Linked DNA regions of Homo sapiens: regions 1, 2, 3, 4, 5 and 6 are each linked to region 7. Evidence: promoter capture Hi-C in 16 types of primary human blood cells and fetal thymus (Javierre and others, 2016). All regions are on one chromosome and are shown on one strand. The core of a region is centred on a gene start or on the middle of the fragment in contact, and the rest is flanking DNA. Distances in the headings are between cores, read along the strand shown.

Region 1 (3,476 bases), core at 792-3,291, 340 kb after region 7:
GCAAACCACCATGGCACGTGTGTACCTATGTAACAAACCTGCACATTCTACACATGTACCCCAGAACTTACAGTAAAAAAAAATAAACTTTAAAAAGGATATGAACTCTTTGTTTTAATAAAATGTATATTATAATCAGGCACAGTGGCCCACACCTATAACCTTAGCTCTTTGGGAGGCTGAGGCAGGCAAATCACTTGAGCTCAGGAGTTTGAGACCAGCCTGGACAACACGGCAAAACCCCATCTCTAAAAAGAACAATTACACAAATTAGCCAAGTGTGATGGGTGTGGTGGTGCATGCCTGTAGTCCCAGCTACATGGAAGGCTGAGGTGCAAGGGTCATTTGAGCCCAGGAGGTCGAGGCTGCAGTTAGCCGAGATCACACCACTGCACTCCAGCCTGGGCAACAACGAGACCCTGTCTCAAAAAATTAAATAAAATGTATATTACAGTCAGACAGGCTACTCTGTGAATTCTGAATGGGCCACTGTCTCTAATCAGAAAGCTTTGTAGATATTCTTGGCACATGGCAATGGCATCCTCAATCAGTGTCTATGTGGCTTTACTAAAAATTAACCAAAGATCGGTTTTATTTCTTAATACTAGACAAGACTGATCAAGCAATAAGAAGTTGTGGTGTACTTGCCATGTTCAGGGAGTATATAAGGCAATGAATGCAAGGGTTGCAGCAAAGAAACATGGGACACAGTCCCTGAATATAAGAAGCTATCTACCTAGGAAGATGAGGCCCAATCCGATACAAGCAATAAAGAAGTATCAAGTAATCTCTTTACTGATAATACTGATCAGGATAGTAATAGTGGCAGTGTATTGAGTGTTTACTCTGTTCCAACGACTGTGCTAAATGCTTTATATAAATCATGTTGTTGAATCCTCAAAACAACTTTATTAAGTAGGTACTATAATTATTGCCACTTTAGGGGTAAGGAAACCAACCCACATAAAGTTTAAATCATTTGCCAGGATTTTATTCCAGGCTGTCCGACACCAAAGACCATGCCTTTAAATATCCAGCAATCTGTAATGCCTCATAAGAGCAAAGGGAGTTCAAAGTGGGGAGATCAGCATGGGATGGATGAGACCTTCACGGAAGAGGGATCCTGGAGATGTAGATGTGGTTTGGGGTAAAGAGAGGATGGAGAAGACCTTCCAAGGAAGGAGGGAGAAGGAGAGGGAGAGCACACACAGGCTGAGAAGTGAAAATGCACAAAGCTCATTGGGGTCCCAAGAGTTACCCTGCTGCCACTGCACACCCTTTTTGCATGGATGTTAGTGGGTGGATAATGGTGGTCAGGTGACAGAAGCACATGGAAGTTAGGATTATGGAAGGGCCTCCTTGAAAAAAGCCTTCAGAAATGAGAGGGAAATAAAAACAATTGAAACCAAAACAAAGTTGATGAGTGGAACCTAATTAAACTAAAGAGCTTTTACACAGCAAAAGAAACTATCAACAGAGTAAATAGACAATCTAGGGAACGGGAGAAAATATTTGCAAACTATGCATCTGAAAAAAGTCTAATATCCAGACTCTATAAGGAAATTAAACTAATCAACAAGCAAAAACCAAATAACCTCATTAAAAAATGGGCAGAGGACCTAAACAGACACTTCTCAGAAGACATGCAAGTGGCCAACAAACATATGAAGAAATGCTCATCTGGCTGGGTGCGATGGCTCATGCCTGTCATCCCAGCACTTTGAGAGGCCTGGGCAGGAGGATCACTTGAGGTCAGGAGTTAGAGACCAGCCTAGTCAACATGGTGGAACCCCATCTCTACTAAAAATACAAAAAAAAAATTAGCAGGGTGTGGTGGCGCACTTGTAATCCCAGCTACTTGGGCGGCTAAGGTGGGAGAATCATTTGAACCCACCTACCTGGGAGGTGGAGGTTGCAGTGAGCTAAGATCGCGTCACTGCATTCCAGCTTGAGCAACAAAGCGAGACTCCATCTCAAAAAAAAAAAAAAGTTCATCATCACTAATCATCAGAGAAATGGAAATCAAAACCACCATGAGACACTATCTCACGCCATTCAGAATGACCATTACTAAAAAGTAAAAAAAAAAAAAAAAACAGATGCTGGCAAGGCTGCAGAGAAAACGGAATACCTATACACTGTTGGTGGGAATGTAAATTAGATCAGCCACTGTGGAAAGCAGTTTGGCGACTTCTCAGAGAATTTAAAACAGAGCTACCATTCGACCCAGAAATCCCATTATTGGGTATATGCCCAAAGGAAAATAAATTATTATACCAAAAAGACACATGCACTCATATGTTCATTGCCATGCTACTCACAATAGCAAAGCCATGGAATTGACTTAGGTGCCAATAAATGATGGACTGAATAAAGAAAATGTAGAACATATACACCATGGAATATTCCACAGACATAAACAAGAATGAATCATGTCCTTTGCAGCAACATGGATGGAGCTGGAGGCCATAATCCTAAGTGAGTTAATGCAGGAACAGAAAACCAAATGCTGCATGTTCTCACTTAAAAGTGGGAGCTAAATATTGAACATACATAGACATAAACATGGGAACAACAGACACTGCAGACTACTAGATGGGAGAGGGTGGGAGGGAATGAGGTGAAAAACTACCTATTGGGTACTATGCTCATGACCTGGGTGCAGTCCATTTATGTAATAAACCTGCATATGTACCCCTGTATCTAAAATAAAAGTTGAAATTTTTAAAAAATCTTTATAAATCTAGATAAGAAACTGTTAACTTTTCACCATTTAACAAAAGTAAATGTCTTACAAGAAAAATGTTTTAAAGGGATAATCTATTGTCTAGAAGAAAGATGACAAAATTATATTTAAAAAGAGAAAGAAAGGGCCGGGTGTGGTGGCTCACGCCTGTAATCCCAGCACTTTGGGACACAGAGGCAGGAGGATCACTTAAGGCCAGGAGCTCGAGACAAGCCTGGCCAACATGGCTTTCTACTAAAAATACAAAAACTCAACAGGCGTGGCGGTGGCACCTGTGGTCCCAGCTACTAGGGAGGCTGAGGCAGGAGAATCACTTGAACCCAGGAGGCAGAGGTTGCAGTGAGCCGAGATCATGCCACTGCACTCCAGCCTGGGCAACAGAGAGAGATTCTGTCTTGGAAAAAAAAAAAAAAGAATGAATGAATGAATGAATGAATGAAATTGGAGATGAAGAAGGCAACATTGAAGCCAGGACAAACAATAAGTAAATTACTTCAACAATTATCCATGTGAAGTGACAAAGGTATGTACTTTGAGAAGAGGGCAGGAAATTCCAACCAGAGATGAGGTGTCACCAGTGGGATCTGGCTAAATTCTAGCCCCAGACATTTTATATTATAATCCCAACAAGGAGGTATCAAACACTAACATATTTTACAACTTTGGTGTGGTCACCTAAAAATAATAACCATCTCTGACAAGTACTATACCAAGTCCTTTCCATATGCCT
Region 2 (3,134 bases), core at 449-2,948, 300 kb after region 7:
AGTTCAACTCCATACTAAAGAAACCTGAAGCCTCTCCATTCAGTGTTCCCAGCAGTCTTCACTGATTCCTTCTGTTTTACTAATTAAAATCCATGTAACCCACGGTATAACTTTGCTGGGTATGGTTGATTGACACTCTCCATTCACTCCACCTCTTTCTATGTACTTTTCTGTACTGCAGTCTGGAAAGCTAAAATCTGCATTTCCCAGACTCTCTTGGATCTAGGGTTCTGGATGCACTTAGGCAAGACCTAAACCACAGCAGTAAGACAGCAGCTATCTCCCTGCTGCTACATCTGTGGACAAGCAGGTCATGAAAATGTGTCAGAGCAGTGGTGGCAGCTGGATTCCTGATTCTGTGATTTTATCATCAGCTTTGAAAGTATGAGGAGGCAGCTGTGGCTGCCATACTGGGACCAGGAAGCCAGGATCAGGAAGCTGCTGCTGGCCCTGGCACAGGCAGAGGCCACCTCAGCAGACAGCCACATCACTGCTAGAGAGGCAGCCAGGAACATTCCAGGTGGGAACTCCAGGATTCAAGGAGAGAAGTCACCACGGAAAAATTACCAATTTGCAGGACGATAAGTAGGCTTTCTTCCATGAGTACATTTCCTGGCCACAAAAAGACAATCATGGTTTTATCTTGGCTTTATATATAAGAATATGTAAGTAGAGTAGTTTGCTTCTGCTGAAGTTCTGACCATATGCCTCACCCTCAGGTCATCATCAGATGCCAGTTGTATATGTTTAGGGATGTCACATAACATCTCTGGGCTTCAGTTTCTTAATCTGCCAAATAACAGCATATGATGAGATGACTTTTCCAAAGACATGTTCTGTTCTAAAATCCTGTGAGCTATTAGTGTAATTAAAAACAGATATCTGCTACATCCTTTTTTGCCCTGAAGGACTGAGCCAGCCACAGATTCATTTCAGTGCTATTAGTGACTGTTATTGCTGAACTGCAGGCCTCTCAAAATTCGTATGTTGAAGCCCCCACCCCCAGGGCCTCAGAATGTGACTGTATTTGGACACAGGGCCTTTACAGAGGTATTAAATTAAAATGAGGTAAATATGGTGGGCCTTAATCCAATACAACCGGTGTCCCCACAAGAAGAGGAGATTAGAAAACAGAGAGACGATCATGTGAAGGCAGAGGGAGAAGCCACCCATCCACAAGCCACGAGAGGAGACTCAGGAGAAACCAAACCTGCCAACACCTTGATCTCAGACTTCTAGCCTCCAGAGTCATGAGAAAATAAAGTCCTGTCTTTTAAGCTACCCAGTGTATAGTATTTTGTTAGGGCAGCCCCAGCAAACTAATACAGTGATATCAAAATAAAACTTTCCAGAAAGCTTTCTGACAGCAAGAGAAAAAAGGACTAAGAAATTTCGCCAGCCAAGATATTCACTATACAATTAATGACCAGGAATGTAGCTAAATGTCCACAGGTAGGAGGCAGAATATCTTACCAGAGAAAGTGGAGACAAATACTGGACAACATTTCCATTTAGTAATAGAAAATGTTGTTAGCTCTATAGAGTATATGTAAAAGGTCCCCTGATGTTAAAGAATTGTTGGGATATCAGAAATAATGGCACAGTCAAAAAATCTAGAGCTCAGAGAATATGTACATTTTCTGCGAGAAAAATGACAATCACTTTATTGGCTATAATTTGAGATGTAGTCTAAGTTACTCTGGTCACTGCTTCCCAAATGTGTTGAGTTCCTCCCTGGGCTTTCCACTGGGTAAGTGAATGACCAGCTCATTGTTTTTGCCCTCTTTAAACATTGCTACCAGCCACTCTCCTCTCAGAGCCTCCCAAGTCTGACAAATATGAGCACCAAGAGGAAAGGAGAAGGGTCTGATTTCTGTTCATGCTATGACCCACTTGGTTCTCTGCATCTGCAGTCCAGCAGTTAGTTCCACACCTGGGACCATTTGGATTCCACTTGCAGGCCTGGCACTGCCTCCCCTCATAAGCTCATTTTAAGCCCAGGTGGATGTAACTTTGTTGATTCAGCATGAAATAAGCTTTGGCCCACCTGGCTTAGATACTGAGCTTCTGAGAGTACAATGACCTGCAAAAGGGTGCCCACACATACATAGTGGTATGCTGATTTCCAGGTCCATTCCACTATCCTAGGGATTCTCAGCTTTTTTCATATTGTGAGACATCACTGTGGGGCAGGAATGACCTAAAGGTTCCAGCCATCTAGGACCTGCCTGTGTTCCCCAAGGGTTGAGAGGATCAATTACTTGGACACGCCTGTTACCCAGTCCTACGGAAGCACACAAGCTGGGAGCTATGATGCTCTACTCCACTGCAACCATTAATGGCACTAAGTAGAACTAAGACTATACCTTATTGTCTACACCAGGGGTCTCCATCTCCCAGGCCTTGGACCAGTATTGGAACCAGGCTGCACAGTAGGAGGTGAGCAGTGGGGGAGTGAGCATTACCACTGAGCTCTGCCTCTTGTCAGATCAGCTGCAGCATTCAATTCTCATAGGAGCGCAAACCCTACTGTGAACTACGCATGCGAGAGATCTAGGTTGTGTGCTCCTTATGAGAATCTAACTAATGCCTGATGATCTGAGGTGGAAGAGTTTCATCCCAAAACCATTCCTTGCCCACCCTTTCCATGGAAACATTATCTTCCATGAAACTGGTCCCTGGTGCCAAAAAGGTTGGGGACCACTGGTCTACACTATAGTAGTACTTGAGGGTGACCATGAGATGCCTACTAAGAACTTAGAAAGAGTGAAATGATATTGCTTTCTACACATTAAACAGCGAGAGCAGTTTATATTAGGCTGTAATAAGAATATACAAATCACTTTAAAAAGACAGCATGTTACCCGGGAAGCACTGTTGATTATAACTTGATTAAAAGCATAGAAAATGTAAAGATAGCATGAACCATCATCATCAAGATCTAGAAAATGGGAGGGTGAATATTGGCTGAGACTGTTCAGGTGTTCAGGGACATGGAGCTTTAGCTGCTAGGCTCCAATTTCTCCCTTTTTCCAGACCATCCTGATGGCAGGATGGATACATCCAGCCATCTCATCCTGATGCTATTATACACATATATCTAAATCTCCTCATCTTGATTCCATGCACACAAA
Region 3 (3,523 bases), core at 654-3,153, 360 kb after region 7:
CAAGCCCCTGGGCTTACTAACTCCTGCCTGTGGACACCTAGGTTATAGGCCCAGATGCCTAACCTCCATTTAGGCTCTCTCAGTGTTTGACCCAACCTGGATAGCAGATGCATTAGCATAAAACTAAGTAGGCAAGAGTCCTGGGTGGTTTGCTGGGCAAATAATTATTTCAGTTAAACGAGTGTTGATTGAGCATCTAACATGTGCAAAGAAGAATGAGAACTTGAGCCCACTTCTTGTGACACCAAGTTCACGATTCTTCCCACCATTCTATACCACCTGGGCTAAAGTGCCAAGGCCCCATTCCCACCGCCAAAATAACAGTGAATGCTTAGATATTGGGAACCCTGAGATTTGCAGGAAATATTATTTAAGTCTGTATGTTTTTCACAGCAGGTGCTGTCAATCAATTCCTCCAACCATTAAAAACTTCAGTGTGGCCCTAGGTGACCTGGATCCTAACTTCCATCAGAACAGTTGTCCATCAGAGCATCTGCACAGTAGTACTTGCCCTCAGCAGCTAGGGAGCTAAAGCCAGATTACATTGGATCAAGCAGAGATTGGGTGGTCTGGAAAGGAAATAGCAAATGTAGCCTTTTTATTCCCAAAATCATGTCAAGAAACAAAGAATAAATCTGTTTGAAGAAACATCACATCATCACAGTTTTGTTTCATTTTTATTTTTTTAAGGCCTGAAGAAGGATATATGTGTAGGCTAAGGAAAAGTTTCTTGAGGAGGGAAAAAGATGAAGTTGCAAAAGAGATGGAATAACTTGGCCAGGCGCAGTGGCTCATGCCTATAATCCCATCACTTTGGGAGGCCAAGGCGGGTGGATCACCTGAGGTCAGGAGTTCGAGACCAGCCTGACCAATGTGGCATGGTGAAACCCCACCTCTACTAAATACAAAAATTAGCCAGGTGTGGTGGTGAGTGCCTGTAATCCCAGCTACTCAGGAGGCTGAGGCAGGAGAATTGCTTGAATCCGGGAGGCGCACGTTGCAGTGAGCCAAGATCACGCCACTGCACTCCAGCCTGGGCAACAGAACAAGACTTCATCTCAATAAAAACAAACGACAACAACAAAGAGATAGAATAACTGATGGAAATCTTAAAGGTAAATGTCTATCAGAATTACGATGTAAGGCATTGCCCTAAGAACTTGACATATTTAAGTCAATTTACTTCACTCAAAAACTTTATGAAGAAGGCACTAAGATATTCTCATCTTACAGATGAGGGAAATAAGGCGTAACTGAGATAGCATCACGTTATAAAACTGGGATTAGAATTTAGCCAGTCAAGCTCCAACGCCCATGTGCTTAGTGGACTGTAGGTTGTAAATCTACCTCTCTGGGGAAAGTTTTTGTGTCAAAGGAGGCACACTAATTGCAGCCTAGCATTCTCAAAAAAGAAAAGACACTTCTTTCTTTTCACCAGAAGGCATTGAAGAGGAGTCAGGGGAGGAAACAGAGAAATGTAGAGGAATAGAAAAGAACAGTTAAAGAAGAATGAAAGATCTATTGGTGTTGGAATGGCTAGGCTGATTGTTAATGTCCCTTACGTTCAGAATAGTAAACCCATGTTTTCAGCACAAATGCACCAGAGGGAAATTACCCCCCTACTTGCTACGGGAGCTGCCATCTTCCAATTAATCTACCAGCTACGATTATTTAGAAAAATGTATGAAAGCTGTAACTGGGTCACAGGCTCATTTTATATTACCTATATACGTACATTGTGTTCCTCCCCATGCTAATTTTGGCATATTCATTATAGTACAAACTTTGGAGAGACAATAATATCTTGGGATCCATCCTTAAACTGTACAGCTTGGAGTCCTGCTTCTTGTGATGGAGATCAAAACGGATGGAGCAATGAACTCCCAAAACTCTGAAATTACACTCAGTGGTTTCCTTGGCAAGGTGAAAGAGCCAAGCATTGACCAATCATGGGATAATGACAGAATATGGTCATACCTCATGTAGCATCCAGTTTGAGAGACCCCAATTTACCATTTCTTGAGAAAAACCCAATTACAACATTTTTTGATAAGAAAGTTCTCTAGACAGCTCTAGACAGTGCTAGTGAGAGGTAAAGCAGGCTAGGCTTCTGGGTCGGGTGGGGACTTGGAGAATTTTTCTGTCTAGCTAAAGGATTGTAAATGCACCAATCAGCACTCTGTGTCTACCTAAAGGCTTGTAAACGCACCAATCAGCACTCTGTCAAAAGAGACCAATCAGCACTCTGTCAAACGGACCAATCAGCACTCTGTAAAATGGACCAATCAGCTCTCTGTAAAATGGACCAATCAGCAGGATGTGGGTGGGGCCAAATAAGGGAATAAAGCAGGTCACCTGATCCAGCAGCTGCAATGCTGTTGGGTTCGCTTCCAAGGTGTGGCAGTCTTGTTCTTTGTTTCTTCCCAGTAAATCTTGCTGCTGTTCACACTTTGGGTCCACACTGGCTTTTCGGGCTGTAACACTCACCTGGAAGGTCTGCAGCTTCACTCATGAAGCCAGTGAGACCACAAACCCAGCGGGAGGAATGAATCTGTAACACTCACTGCGTAGGTCTGTGGCTTCACTCCTGAAGTCAGCGAGACCACAAAGCCGCCAGAAGGAAGAAACTCTGGACACGTCTGAACATCTGAAGGAACAAACTCTGGACACAACATCTTTAAGACCTTTAACACTCACCATGAGGGTCCGCGGCTTCATTCTTGAAGTCAGCGAGACCAAGAACCCAGAAGGAACCAATTCTGGACCCACTAGCACACCACGGCCTTGTTACCCCAGTTTATCCTCACAACAACCTTTCAGAATGGGTATCATGATTATCTCCAGTATACATACTGGAGAAATACTTAGATATGTTCTGTAATTTTTCTGTGTGTGTAGAACTAGAATGGGGCAGAATTCTGAGGAAGCTCTGACATGTATGGCCCTGATAACATCTAGCCATTAGGTGACTCCATTTTTACCTGAAAATAGACACGGGGATTCAAGGTGGTCAGAGTTGCCAGATATTAACCAGTGTCCACCTCTGGCTAACCTCTGTTAGAGATTGATTTTCTGAGGCTCTTTGGGAGCTTAGTTTATATTTATGAGTTTTTACTGTTCAGTAGTGAACCTCCATGGAGAAGCCCTTAAGTGTATTTTTTTTTTATTTAGTTATTGAGAAATATTCTAGCCCCTTGCTGCACAAAAGATGGACCAACTACCAACATAATCTGGTAACTTGCCAGATATCCAGAATCTCTGCCCCTACCCTGGTCTACTAAATCAGAAAGTTCATCTTCGGTTGATCCCCCAGATCACGTTTGTGCCCATTGAAATTTAAGAAGCATTGCTTTACCCTGCTCGTGATCAAAGTGGGGCTCACATATACCAAGAGTGTCACATTGTAAGTTGCTTTTCTTGCAATTGGGAGGGATTGGCGTTGCTGCAGCAACACAATCCTCCTGGACGTTTTTGGCTGGTAGGGGTACAGTCTGGTCACAAAACAGAACAACTCTACAGAGTG
Region 4 (3,166 bases), core at 477-2,976, 320 kb after region 7:
TCAGGGGTTTTTTGGTGTTTGTTTGTTTGTTTGTTTGTTTTGTTTGAGACGGAGTTTCACTCTTGTCACCCAGGCTGGAGTGCAATGGCTTGTTCTCAGCTCACTGCAACCTCCGCCTCCCAGGTTCAAGTGATTCTCCTGCCTCAGCCTCCCAAGTAGCTGAGATTACAAGCACGTGCCACCACACCCAGCTAATTTTTGTATTTTTAGTAGAGACGGGGTTTCACCATGTTGGCCAGGCTGGTCTTGAACTCCTGACCTCAAGTGATCCACCTGCCTCGGCCTCCCAAAGTGCTGGGATTACAAGCATGAGCCACCACGTCTGGCCCGGTTTTTTTAATCTGTTGGGAGACTGCCTTTCCCTGGCGCTGGCTACGACCAATTATTATTTTAGAGAGGCAGTTTAACAACCTCCAACCATCACCTGATGGTCGCCTGACATTCCTAGTGGGAGGCAGGGGGCCCTTTCCTGCCCTGCTCATATCTGACTAGCTACCTACTGTAACAGGATGACCAAACTGTTCAAAACAGAAGCCACTGGAAACTGACTCTAGGTAGAAATAAGGAGTTCCCTTTAAAAGTCATGGCATTCATCTGGGTGCAGTGGTGTGTCACACCTGTAATCCCAGCACTTTGGGAGGATTGTTTGAGGCCAAGAGTTCAAGACCAGCCTAGGCAACATAGTGAGACTCCATCTCTACAAAAAAAGAAAAAAAATAGCCAGGCATGGTGGCACACACCTGTAGTCCTAGTTACTCAGAAGGCTGAGGCAGGAGGATTATTTGAGCCCAGAGGTTGGAGGCTGCAGTGAGTTGTGACACTCCAGCCTGGGTGACAGAGCAAGACTCTAACTCAAAAAGAAACAAAACCTGGAACTCATACCTCTGCCCAATAGACACATCCAGAACATGCTGTTTACTTCATGCCTCCTGGGAGATTCCCCTTCCCCAACCCTCAGTGAGCCAGATTGAATTGACCACATTCAGCTGAAGAAACATGATCACACATGATGACTTTCTCAAAAGTCTGGAAAGACTTAAAAAATAAAGTAAAATAAACCCAAGCCTCCCATCGCAAATGTTGGCTCCAAATAGAAGATTTTATTGTAAACCTTCCAGACATTTAGACTCCACTGTTATTTTTGAAAAGACATTCCAATAACAGATGCCCCTTCAGTTGGGGTATGGTTTGATAGAAAGCAGCAGGCACAATTTAAAAAAATAAAATAGCACTCTTGGGATGTCAAAATAAATTAGCTGTGATGCTGAAATTATTTCCTGTTAGGTTTAATGAAGTTAACAAGATAAGTAAATATGAAAAACAGCATTAGCAACCAGGGGCTAATCTCCTCCCAAACATGGAGCACTTCCAGACATTGATAACAATGTATGTGGAATTTCTTTCATTTATTTTTATATATCACAATGCCTTCATTCCATGTCTATTTTTCAAAATCTTTGAGATTTCTTTTGAGCTGAACTTATTTGTAATTCTCTTTTGAAACATAGTTAGAAATCTGTGACTCAAGCATTTTGCTATTTTTCATGTTCTGTTTCTACATTGTTGTAGTACCTCCAACAAACAGATAAATGATAATTAAAGAAAAGGTTGAAGTTGTTATTTAAAAGGCATTTGGAGACTATATGGACTTTTCATTTAACCAAGTTTTCTTGGTCCCAATTAGCATAAATAATTAAGACTTGACAGCAAGTTAGAGACATGACCCCTTCCCGGAGGAACTTCAGATATAAAAATAAACCCCTCCAAAGATGGTTTTCTTACTGTTTCCAATCATTACTCCCTAGCTTATACATAAATTGCCTTAAAAAATGTAGGTAGGGCTGGGCACGGTGGCTCACGCCTGTAATCCCAGCACTCTGGGAGGCCAAGGCAGGTGGGTAACCTGAGGTCAGGAGTTCAAGACCAGCCTGGCCAACATGGCGAAACCCCATCTCTACTAAAAATAGAAAAATTAGCTGGGCATGGTGGCACATGCCTGTAGACCCAGCTACTTAGGAGACTGAGGTCGCTTGAACCCGGGAGGCAGATGTTGCAATGAGCTGAGATCACGCCACTGCACTCCAGCCTGGGTGACAGAAGGAGACTTCATCTCAAAAAAAAAAAATGTAGGTAGGCACACAGATCTTGAAGTCATCGGACACGTTTCTAGTCCCAACTCTTACCCTGTTATTCACTTATCTCTTCGGTCATCAGTTTCACCATCTGAAAAATGAGTGGGTAGTATCCTTGATAATAAATATTATTCATTGAATATTTAATAAGTTATAGGCCCTTTACTAAGGACTTCACATACATCATCTAATTGATGCTAACAATAACCTTTTAAGGTATTATCTCTATTTTACAAGTGTGAAACTGAGGCACAGAGAAGTTAAGTAACTTTCCAAAGGCCACTCGGCAAGCAAGTAACTAAGCCAGCATTCAAATACAGATTGACTCAAGTCCACAGGCCACACCTGCCTATAGCCACAATGCCTCCCACTGTGAGATACCACCTCTGGGATCCCTTTCAGATGAACTTCTCCAAGGTGTTATGATTCTTTTAGAGTACAGTTATTTGCAAAAAAAAAAAAAAAGAGAGAGAGAAAATACTTTGAGTGACAGGAGAACAATGGTTCCATGGATAGAAATATGAAACAGAGAGGGATAACAGGGAAAAAAAAATGCATTCTGGTTTGCAACTAGTGAATTTCCTAGTGCTGGCAGAGATGTCCAACAGGCACTTGGAAACTTCAACTAGAACAAGGGACAAAAGCCAGAGCTGAAGATAAAGAACTAAATCCCTTGCAAGGAGGTAATGACTGAAATTAAGCAACTGAAAGAGAATGCCAAGGGAGGAGCCCTGGAAAGAGGAAGGGTCCATCCTTGGGATCAACTGTCTGAGGATGCAGGAAACAGAGAAGGACATATAGGTGCTGAGTAGGAGAACCTCAAGGATGGCGCTTCTGAAGCAAAGTTAAGAAGAATCTGGGCCGGGCACGGTGGCTCGCGCCTGTAATCCCAGCACTTTGGGAGGTCGAGGCGGGCGGATCATGAGGTCAGCAGATCGAGACCGTCCTGGTTAACGCGGTGAAACCCTGTCCCTACTAAAAATACAAAAAATTAGCCGGGCGTGGTGGCGGGCGCCTGTAGTCCCAGCTACTCG
Region 5 (3,484 bases), core at 865-3,364, 260 kb after region 7:
GGGCAGATCACAAGACCAGGAGTTCGAGACCAGCATGGTGAAACCCCGTCCCTACTAAAAATACAAAAAATTAGCTGGGCATGGTGGCATGTTCTTGCAGTCCCAGCTACTCTGGAGGCTGAGGCAGGAGAATTGCTTGAACCTGGCAGGCAGAGGTTGCAGTGAGCCGAGATCACGCTACTGCACTCCAGTCTGGGCGACAGAGTGAGACTCCATCTCAAAAAAAAAAAAAAAAAAAAAAGGAGATAGCAATTGGGACAATTAGAAAGGGAATTCCCCCTTCCTTGTCTTTAGTTTGAAAAAGAAAAAGTAAGCATATATACTGTTGTACATTTACAGGGAACTAATCTCTTTAGCTGCTTTACCTTGAGTAAGCCTCATAACAATCTGAGGAGGAAGATATTTTGCTCCTTTCTAATTGCGTGACCTTGAGCAAGTTCCTTCAGCCCTCAGTGACTCGGCTTCCACACCTATAAAATGCGGACAATAGTACTACCCATATTTTGGTTTGTTGGAAAGATAAAATGAGATAATATATGTAAAATCCATAGATCAATGTCTGGTACAAAGTAGAAGCTCAATGATAGACATGTTGGCATTATCATTGCTGCTATTTTTTTATAATTGTTATTTTATAGATCTGAAAGCTAAGTCTCAGAGCACTCAAGGATCTTGCTGAAGGTTGCACAGCTAATAAGTGACAGATCCATAATTCCACTCCAGATCCATCTGATACCAAAGTTGATGCTTTTAAATCACCCATCCCTTTATCCTGTCTCCCAGCCATCTATACACAGGCACCATGTGATTACAAACACAGCACTGTAAATACTCCTCACTTACTCAAACGAAGAGTCCTTTCTTATTAATGAAGAGCTAGCCCATTTACCCTTTCTGTCTGTGGGTGAGCAGCTTAGATCACTCCCTCGGGGGAGCAATGACTGAGCCATCCTAACCCTCCTTTGTCTCACTTAACAGCCTTCCTTCTCCTCACTGTACCTTCTCAATGTTGATAAATCAAAGAAATGTCAACAAAATGAAAAGACTAAATAAACATTTTCTGTAAGGGTCATATGAGAGGGGAATTTTCTTTTTCATCAAATATTTGATAACATCTTGGACTTTTTGATGTTCCTTTCTCATACTTGGGACTGAATGAAAGTGTATGAGTCATAGACATGACCAAGGGAGGAAAAGCAAATGAGTCACTTGCCCGTTTGGACCTTCCGGCCTGGATGCTCCCTGGGATCAGCATCCCCAGAGGGCTGGTCTGGCCCATCCCACCTGCTGCAGCTGCCGGCTGAATGGGAAAGGGATTTCCTCAGGAGACACTGGGACTCCTGGAAAACAAGTGAGTCAGGAAAAGTGAAAAACATCAGAGCCTCAAGGAGTTGCCCTGTAACTCTTCCAAAAACCATTTTCTGCTATCAGTTTAGAGGTTTCTCATCCACATTTCGTCACTTCCCACTCCTGGATGTACTCCTGCTATAAGCTAATCACTCCTTAAATGCAGACACACACTTCAAAGAGTTGCCATCCATCGTCCTCTCCTCCCCATTAATGCAAGCTACAAGTGCTTGGACTCATGCATCCTTCGACAGATAAATCTCTGTTTCCTTTACTCTTTTTATTGCTCTATTGGAATCTGTCCAGCCTGTATCCTTCTGGTACCAAAGTGCCCCTGGTTGAAGCCCATACTGCTGGACTTAGTCTCTGGGAGTTGAAGGGAGAAGAATTGCAGTGTCCCTCAGCCCACTGTGCTACAGACCTTTTGAAACTTCCTCTCAGTCAGCTGGTCAGTGAATCACATTTAAAACCCAAGCTCACTGTCCACTTCTTTTCAATGGGTCTCTCTCTCAGAGTGTCATTTTTCTATGTTCACCCTGTTTTTCTCAGTGAGGACTTTGGTGCCTGGAAGCCATGAGTTTGAATTCCTACATCCTCTATTATTTTGCTTATAGACCTTGCCAAGTTTGTCGATCCATCTGAGACTCAGTTTCCCCATCTTGGCAAGGAGATAATTCCCATTTCTGGGTGTTGAGTGAGGATTTGGGGCTGGGTAAGACAGCCAAGAGCATTCAGGTGCTCTTCATTCGGCCTCTCTCAACCCGCATGATCCAATGACTTATTTTTCCCCAGGGGCAATCCCCTTACCCCTCACCACCAAAAGTGATTTTGTGACAATTTTCCACTCATTTTTTGTCACAGGAGGTCTCTCTATATTTTTTCCTCCATCTTCGCCAGGATTATAATTCTGCTGATAGCCAATTCTGAATCATCAGCAAATTATGTCAGCAGTTTATTCCCCTCATCCAAATACACAATAAAAATGTAAAACAAAAGTTCTTCTGTAGCTTGTTTCACAAATGTGCTTAAAACTTCTCTCCACAGAATTTATGTCACTTGTATGTATAGTTATGCACTGCATAATGACATTTTGGTCACTGACAGACCGTGACCCCATATAATATGACGGTGACCCCACAGATATGACGGTGACCCCATAAGATAATAACACTGTATTTTTACCTTTTCTATGTTTATATATGTTCAGATACACAAATGCCATTTGGGTACTGTTATGTTTCAATGACCAACAGTTTTCAGTACAGTAAAATGCTGTGCAGGTTTGTAGTCTAGGAGCAATACACAATACCATATAGCTTTGATATTGATGTATAGTAGGCTATACCATCTAGGTTTGTATAAGTACACTGTATGAGGTTCACACAACGACAAAATCGCCTAATGATGCATTTCTTAGAGCGTATCCCCATAGTTAAGCAAGGCATGACTACAAATCCAAACATGTAAACTGAAAAGTGCCAGAAAGGCTGCCATCATGAGCATCAGTAATTTTACCAGAAACATTAAAATACCCTCAGGTGATTTTTATTATTTTTTTTATTTATTTATTTATTTATTTATTTTTGAGATGGAGTCTCGCTCTGTCACCCAGGCTGGAGTGCAGTGGCACGATCTCGGCTCACTACAACCTCCACCTCCCGGGTTCGCGCCATTCTCCTGCCTCAGCCTCCCGAGTAGCTGGGACTACAGGCGCCCACCACCACCCCCAGCTAATTTTTTGTATTTTTAGTAGAGGTGGGGTTTCACCGTGTTAGCCAGGATGGTCTCAGATCTCCTGACCTCGTGATCCACCCGCCTCGACCTCCCAAAGTGCTGGGATTACAGGCATGAACCACTGTGCCCAGCCCTGATTTTTAAAATTAACACTTCAAGCTCTGTTCATTTTTTAAAAAAAGCAAACAAAAAAGATAAAGCTGTCAATATAATGTACTTTCATTTTATAAGTGTTAATTGCCCTTAGGTGTGTTCACATTAATTTTCTTTGCCTTTCTAGGGTGTTAAGAGATATTTTCTTTGCAAATAGTTTGTTAACTGTAAGTTTGATCCTCTATTTCCTTCTTTTTAGAATAGTGTACAAACTTCTAACACCAAATTCTTAGACATTTATAGACAGTAT
Region 6 (3,067 bases), core at 205-2,704, 270 kb after region 7:
CCCCCTTGTCTTCTCTTTCTCCCGCTCCAGCCATGTAAGATGTGCCTCCTTCCCCTTTGCCTTCTGCCATAACTGTATGTTTTCTGAGGCCTCCTCAGCCATGTTTCCTGTACAGCCTGCAGAACCATGAGCCAATTAAACCTCTTTTCTTTATAAATTATCCAGTCTCAGGTAGTTCTTTATAGCAATCCAAGAACAGACTAATACAAAGTTCTGAATAAATTAAAGATCAAATGTGAAAAATAGGACTTAAAGACAGTGTATACATTTAATAGGAAAATCTTCATGAATTGAAGGTAGGGAATGATTTCTTAGACAAGACAAAAAAAGTATGACTTATAAAAAACAGGTTTGGTAAATCTTTAAGCTTTTGATAAAACTTTAATTGAAATTTTTGATAAAAATTTAATTAAAATGTAGAGCTTCTCTCCCTCAAAATACATCATTTTTAAAGGACAATTTACAGACTTACAGAAAATATTTGAACCATAAGTGACAGACTGAGGATTAGTATTCACAAATGTAAAGGACCACCGAAGTTGTAACAAACATGGGTGGAGACTATGAACAGGAAACTCACTGAAGTGGAAATCTAAATGACCAACAATCATACAAAAATATTATCGGCTTCACATGTAATAAGGGAAATGTGAGTAAAATAATAATGAAATACTACTTTACACACTTTGGATTGGCAAAGACTTTAAAGTCCAACAGTATCAACAATTGGCCAAGATGTGGGAAATGGAAAGGAGCACACACTGCTTTGGTGAGTGTAAATTAACACACTCATGACTGGGAGTGGTGACTCACACCTTTAATCCCAACACTTTGAGAGGATGAGGTGGGAGGATTGCTTGAATTCAGGAGTTTGAGACCAGCCTGGGCAATGTGGTGAGACCCCTATCTCTACAAAAAATACAAAAATTAGCCAGGTGTGGTGGTGTGCACCTGTGGTCCCAGCTACTGGGGAGGCTGAGGTGGGAGGATCGTTGAGCTCAGTAGGTCAAGTTTGCAGGAAGCCATGATCATGCCACTGCACTCCAGCCTGGGTGACAGAGTGAGACCATGTCTCGAAAAATAAAATAAAGTAAAATAAAATATTAACATACTTGCTAAATATCTTTTTTAAATTTATTTTGCACTCTTTTTAGCTCATTTTATTTTATTTTTTAAATTTTTTTTTTATTTCAATAGGTTTTTAGGAAGCAGGTCATGTTTGGTTACATGAGTAAGTTCTTTAGCAGCAATTTCTTAGATTTTTGTGCACCCATCACCCGAGCTGTGTACACTGTACCCAGTGTGTAGTCTTTTATCTCTCATGCCCCTCCCACCCTTTCCCTCAAGTCCCTAAAGTCCAGTGTATCATTCTTATGCCTTAGAATCCTCATAACTTAGCTCCCACTTATGAGTGAGAACATATGATGTTCGGTTTTCCATTCCTGAGTTACTTCACTTAAAACAGTAGTCTCCAATTCCATCCAGGTTGCTGTGAATGCCATTATTTTGTTCCTTTTTATGGCTGAGTGGTATTCCATGGTATATATCTACCACATTTTCTTTATCCACTTGTTAATTGACGGGCAATTAGGCTGGCTCCATATTTTTGCAATTGCAAGTAACACACTCACTAAATATTTAAGTAAAGTGGAAACTGCACATGCCCTGTGACTCATAAGTTTAAATCCGTGGAAAATTACTGTTCAATGTAATGCAGGACTGTGTTAGCTCCTGTGGCCGCCATAACAAATTACCACAAGTTTGTTTGGCTTAAAACAACAACAATTTATTCTCTTAGAGCTCAGGGGGCCAGATGCCTGAAATGCAGGTGAAGCAGGGTTGAGCTCCCTCCAAAAGCCCTAGAGGAGAATGCATTCCTTGTCTCTTTCACTTCTGGTGTCTATTGGCTTTCCTTGGCTTATGGCTGCATCTCTGCTCTGTGCTCACATTGCCTTCTCTTCTGTATGTGTGGTATTGAACTTCCCTCTGCCTCTCTTTCTCACATGTGATTGTATTTAGAGCCCACCCAGATAATTCAGACTAAGCTCCTCCTCTTAAGATATTTAACTTAATAACATCTTTCACCATACAAGGTGATATTCACAGATTTTAGGCATTAGACATGAACATATCTTTGAGGCCATCATTCAGTTCACTACAGGGACATACACAAGGATATTTATTTTTTAAATTCTATTAACAGCAAAAAACTAGAAACAGCACAAATGCCCCACCCACAAGATAATGCATAATGTATAATGTAATAAGAATATTATATAGCAGTATAGAGTCAATTTCATCTTCATCTATATCAGCACACATAGTTATCAAACACTTGTCATAAAGCAAGTTGCAGAATGACATATACAATATTATATCATTTATTTAATTTTTAAACAGGAATACATATATTTATTAGAAGTACGCAACATGAGCTAAATAGATATATACAAATATATGACAGTGTTGGAAACTGGGGAGCACCCATGGCATAGAAGATGGGAAGTAGAGCAAAGATGGTTCCATTAAAAGAGAAGCTTCTTTTATAATAATACACAAAAGACAAATTCCAAAATGTGAACAGTCCTTAATCTTGGGTTATAGGCACTGAAGTGTTTGTAATTCTATGCACATTTTAAATGATTTTTTAAATATTTTATAATTTTGTTTTTTATATTTAAAGATAGAAAATATTTTATGGTTATTCAGAAAACAGTATGAAGGATAAATTAGAATAGGCAGGAAATAGAGGGAAGGAAACCATTTAGAGACTACTACAAATAAGAAATAGAAAAGATGTATGAAGATTGGACCTAAGAAAGTGACCATGAAAACAGTGAGAAAAGGGTGATTATGAACAAAATTTACAAGGTAGACTCTTTAGGGCCTGTCTACTGAGTCAATGGGCACCAGGAGCGAGAGCGAGAAGGAAGATTCAAGGTGATGCCAAATTACTGACCTAAGAAACAGGTTGAATGGTGGCAGTGCAGTCACAGACAACTACTAATCTGCTTTCTGTCACAGTGAAATAGTTTCCATTTTCTAGCATTGTATATAAATGAAAGGC
Region 7 (3,146 bases), core at 405-2,904:
AACTACTTGTGAAATACCTTTGTGATTACAGTTTATATGTTTAATTAGAAGCTGGGAATTAAGCTTCCAAACACCACAAAATGAAAGCTTGAGATTCTTCCAACAAACCCCAGCTTTCCACGAACATGGGCTGACTCATCCGTCTCCTGCTCTCCCCTGTCGCCCCAGCCCTGTCTTTCATGCTGAAGTCATTCACTTTCTTCACCTGGATTTGGAAAACTGCTGATGTCTCGTTTAGCTTCATTCCTAAGTTGTCTTTCAAAAGCAGGGACATGCAAAGTGGCTGCCTGTGGCAGAGGCAGCAGGAGAGGGGCACACTTGTTGAGTCTGAGAACTTCACAAAGACTGTTAATTAATTGCTCATTTCGACAAATGAGAACAGATTTCAAATGCATAGTTGAACGTGGAGCAGGAAGAACATCTTGCTCTTGTGACTTGGTTTTAAACGTTGCATCTAGAAGATGGGGTGATACTGAAAGATGTCACTTATTTCCTTTTGTGAATTGAGATAAAATGGTTCTAATTCTTTCACTGCTTTCTGGCTTTAGGGCCCTGCGAAAGAATGTTTATTCTTTTGCTCTTGGTGGGAATTGGATGTCTGTCGATTTAGCATATGTTTAAAATATTTTAGCTTTGGAAAACTGCCCTGATAGCCTTCTCCCTCTAGTCAAAATTAATCTCATCTTCCCGCAGCTCTCACAGCCAGTGATTCATGGCTCTAATACAGCCCTTCTCATATTCTTCTTTATTCTATAAAGACTTACTTTTCTATAAAGACTTTTATTTCTGTTTGTCTCTTACATCAAATTGAAAGTTCTGTGTGGAGAAGAACTCTGTCTTACACATCTTTGTGATTACCTGAGTCTAGTCTGGTACATTATATTTGGCAGCATTCAGTACGTATTACATTGAATCTGGAAGATCACACAGAGAGGGGGATTCTGAGGGGTGGCAACAACCACTTTTGTAGCAGACGCTGTTGGTGTCCAACCCATGTCCCCTTGGCCACCCCAGAGTTTGGCTGTAGTCACATGCTGTGTAGACAGACAACCTCCTGCTTCTCTCTGCCTGAGGGCATTCTTCAGCCATAGAAATGAGCTTGGAAGCGGCTGGGTATGGTGGCTCACACCTGTAATCCCAGCACTTTGGGAGGCCGAGGCAGGCGGATCACAAGGTCAGGAGTTCAAGACCAGCCTGGCCAATATAGTGAAACCCCATCTCTACTAAAAACACAACAAATTAGCTGGGTGTGGTGGCGGGCACCTGTTATCCCAGCTACTCAGGAGGCTGAGGCAGAAGAATCACTTGAACCCAGGAGGCAGAGGTTGCAGTGAGCCGAGATCGCACCATTGCACTCCAACGTGGGCAACAGTGCAAGACTCCATCTCAAAAAAAAAAAAAGACAAAAGGAAAAAAGAAAAAAGAAATGAGCTTGGAAGCACACAGGTTAGTCTGCAAGTGCCAGGGAATTATTGCCCAAGGAATGACCCTTGGCCAAAGAGGGAAAGTCCTGGCTGGATAAATAATCCAAAGTCCTTGCCCTCATTCCAAGGAATGTTCTGCAGTCTCCTAAGGGTTTCCTGCTAGAGGAAGCCCTGATTGCCCAAAGCTTCTTAACACATTCTTTATTAGCTTTCCTCTCTTCCCTGTTTCATATTCCCTGTGCTCCCCTGGGATCAACAGCCAAATGAACAACTTCACCTGAGCCCTTACCTCCAAGGAAGTGCCACAGGGGAACCCAAAGGCCCTTAATCATTAAAAAAAACTTTAGAGATGCTGGCTGAGCCATCAGTGAGAACATGGATGCATACACAGAACCTACATCTTGTCATCTCTGCTCTTCGAGGAATGGAGCTGGAGAGGCAGAGAAGCAATGAAGCCGAATTCTGTGAGTGGGACTTCTGCGCAGCGGGGGAGGGAATTTCTACTTCTGGCCAGGAAATAGAGCTGGTGCCTTGTAGAAAGGCTCGAGGTAATGCAGTCAAAGGGCAAGCTTAGAGCAGTATGTGAAGGAATCCACCAAGGATTAGAACCAGCCAAGGGTCAGACAAACCAAATGAGACCAGAAGAGGAAAGTGGTGTCTTGGCAGAAAGGGCTTCCAGACCCATAGTCACAGGAATCTTCAGGAGAGGGGTGAAGAAGAAGGCATGGATCGCCAGGCCCAGGAGAGTCTAAAGCTGGTTTGGTGGGGAAGAATTTGGCCACATCTGTGCAGGATCCTAGAGAGTGGGGCAGAGGAGCTGGGCATCTGCTGTCAATGAGGCCAATTAAGAACAGTCTCAGGCTTGGGTCTCAAGCCTCAGGGATCTAGAACTTATCTGGTTTTAGCTGCTCTATATTCATTTCTTAGGAAGAGAGAGAGAGAGAGTATGTGTGTGTGTGTCTGTGTCTGTGTATATGTGTGAAATTTCTCTCAACTGAAACACAGGGCAGAACACTAGATGAAACTAGTGCTGTACTTTTCTGCTTATCTGTCGACACAGTCTTAGTGCGCAAAGTCTTGGTCTTAGTGGCTGGGTGTGGCAGTTTCCCAGAGGTGGGGGGCAGTAATAAAGAGAGAGAAAGGGAGACCTGATAGAAGATGGAGACCAGATAGAAGGCATCTGCTACGTGCATAGGTGCCCCTTTCTGAACAAGCTGTTTTTTGGTTACGAGATCCATTCCTGAAATCGATTTTAAGATATTCTGTGTTGGGTGATGTCACAGAAGCACTACTGGTGCACGGATTTGAAAAATAGTGGCTCATCCCGCCTCAGGGTTTGACAGCTTGGTAACTTGCAGTGAGGTTTCTTTTAACAATGAAACCAAGTCCTTTGAAAGACAAAAAAAGAACAAAACATCCACTAATTTTTGCGTGCAGGAGTAAGACAACAGTATTGGGAGATCTCAGCTATAAATGTGCCAGCTCTGGGAACTTTGGTTAAGTCATTTCACCATTCGCCTGTTTCCTCACCTATAACCAAGGAGGCAGCCAAGCCATCCCTAGTATTTCCTGGAATTCTGAGATCCTAAGTCAGATTGTTGAGTCTGGAGAGGCTGGATTCAGTGATTGACTAGGAGGGGCCTGTTTGTGTGGCTGTGTTCTATATGGCAAAACTTTGGTTCAGCACTTTGGCCAAGTCGGCCTCCACAGAAATGAGGATGT

Evidence for each region. The method cuts DNA at HindIII sites, captures the fragments that hold promoters and counts their contacts. A CHiCAGO score of 5 or more calls a contact.
Region 1: a contact is called between a fragment that was not itself captured here and the fragment with the promoter of C5orf67 in region 7, in 8 of 17 cell types (total B cells, neutrophils, M2 macrophages and 5 more). The highest score is 12.1, in total B cells.
Region 2: a contact is called between a fragment that was not itself captured here and the fragment with the promoter of C5orf67 in region 7, in 5 of 17 cell types (total B cells, naive B cells, activated CD4 T cells and 2 more). The highest score is 12.1, in total B cells.
Region 3: a contact is called between a fragment that was not itself captured here and the fragment with the promoter of C5orf67 in region 7, in 2 of 17 cell types (activated CD4 T cells and monocytes). The highest score is 6.8, in activated CD4 T cells.
Region 4: a fragment that was not itself captured here is called in contact with the fragment with the promoter of C5orf67 in region 7 in 6 of 17 cell types (naive B cells, total B cells, non-activated CD4 T cells and 3 more); the score reaches 8.6 in naive B cells.
Region 5: a contact is called between a fragment that was not itself captured here and the fragment with the promoter of C5orf67 in region 7, in 3 of 17 cell types (total B cells, naive B cells and monocytes). The highest score is 8.5, in total B cells.
Region 6: a fragment that was not itself captured here is called in contact with the fragment with the promoter of C5orf67 in region 7 in 7 of 17 cell types (total B cells, naive B cells, non-activated CD4 T cells and 4 more); the score reaches 12.9 in total B cells.

What each region holds. Positions count from the first base shown.
Region 1 is chr5:56,265,167-56,268,642 of GRCh38, reverse strand. No RefSeq gene overlaps it. Among named protein-coding and RNA genes, the nearest start is that of ANKRD55, 34 kb to the right of the region's middle. The HindIII fragment of the contact is 3,064 bases long and covers 510-3,476 here.
Region 2 is chr5:56,302,982-56,306,115 of GRCh38, reverse strand. The region is part of intron 2 of LOC105378977 (a long non-coding RNA gene); the gene reads right to left. Among named protein-coding and RNA genes, the nearest start is that of ANKRD55, 71 kb to the right of the region's middle. The HindIII fragment of the contact is 680 bases long and covers 1,359-2,038 here.
Region 3 is chr5:56,248,045-56,251,567 of GRCh38, reverse strand. No RefSeq gene overlaps it. Among named protein-coding and RNA genes, the nearest start is that of ANKRD55, 16 kb to the right of the region's middle. The HindIII fragment of the contact is 5,147 bases long and covers 1-3,523 here.
Region 4 is chr5:56,284,588-56,287,753 of GRCh38, reverse strand. No RefSeq gene overlaps it. Among named protein-coding and RNA genes, the nearest start is that of ANKRD55, 53 kb to the right of the region's middle. The HindIII fragment of the contact is 4,216 bases long and covers 1-3,166 here.
Region 5 is chr5:56,348,459-56,351,942 of GRCh38, reverse strand. It overlaps LOC105378977 (a long non-coding RNA gene), which reads right to left. Exons shown (of 3, transcript XR_948342.3): 3 at 881-1,340. Among named protein-coding and RNA genes, the nearest start is that of ANKRD55, 120 kb to the right of the region's middle. RefSeq lists an enhancer at 528-1,727. The HindIII fragment of the contact is 4,812 bases long and covers 1-3,484 here.
Region 6 is chr5:56,331,204-56,334,270 of GRCh38, reverse strand. The region is part of intron 2 of LOC105378977 (a long non-coding RNA gene); the gene reads right to left. Among named protein-coding and RNA genes, the nearest start is that of ANKRD55, 99 kb to the right of the region's middle. The HindIII fragment of the contact is 2,170 bases long and covers 370-2,539 here.
Region 7 is chr5:56,604,764-56,607,909 of GRCh38, reverse strand. C5orf67 (chromosome 5 putative open reading frame 67) reads left to right here and starts at 1,654. Exons shown (of 6, transcript NR_161255.1): 1 at 1,654-1,888. The HindIII fragment of the contact is 384 bases long and covers 1,612-1,995 here.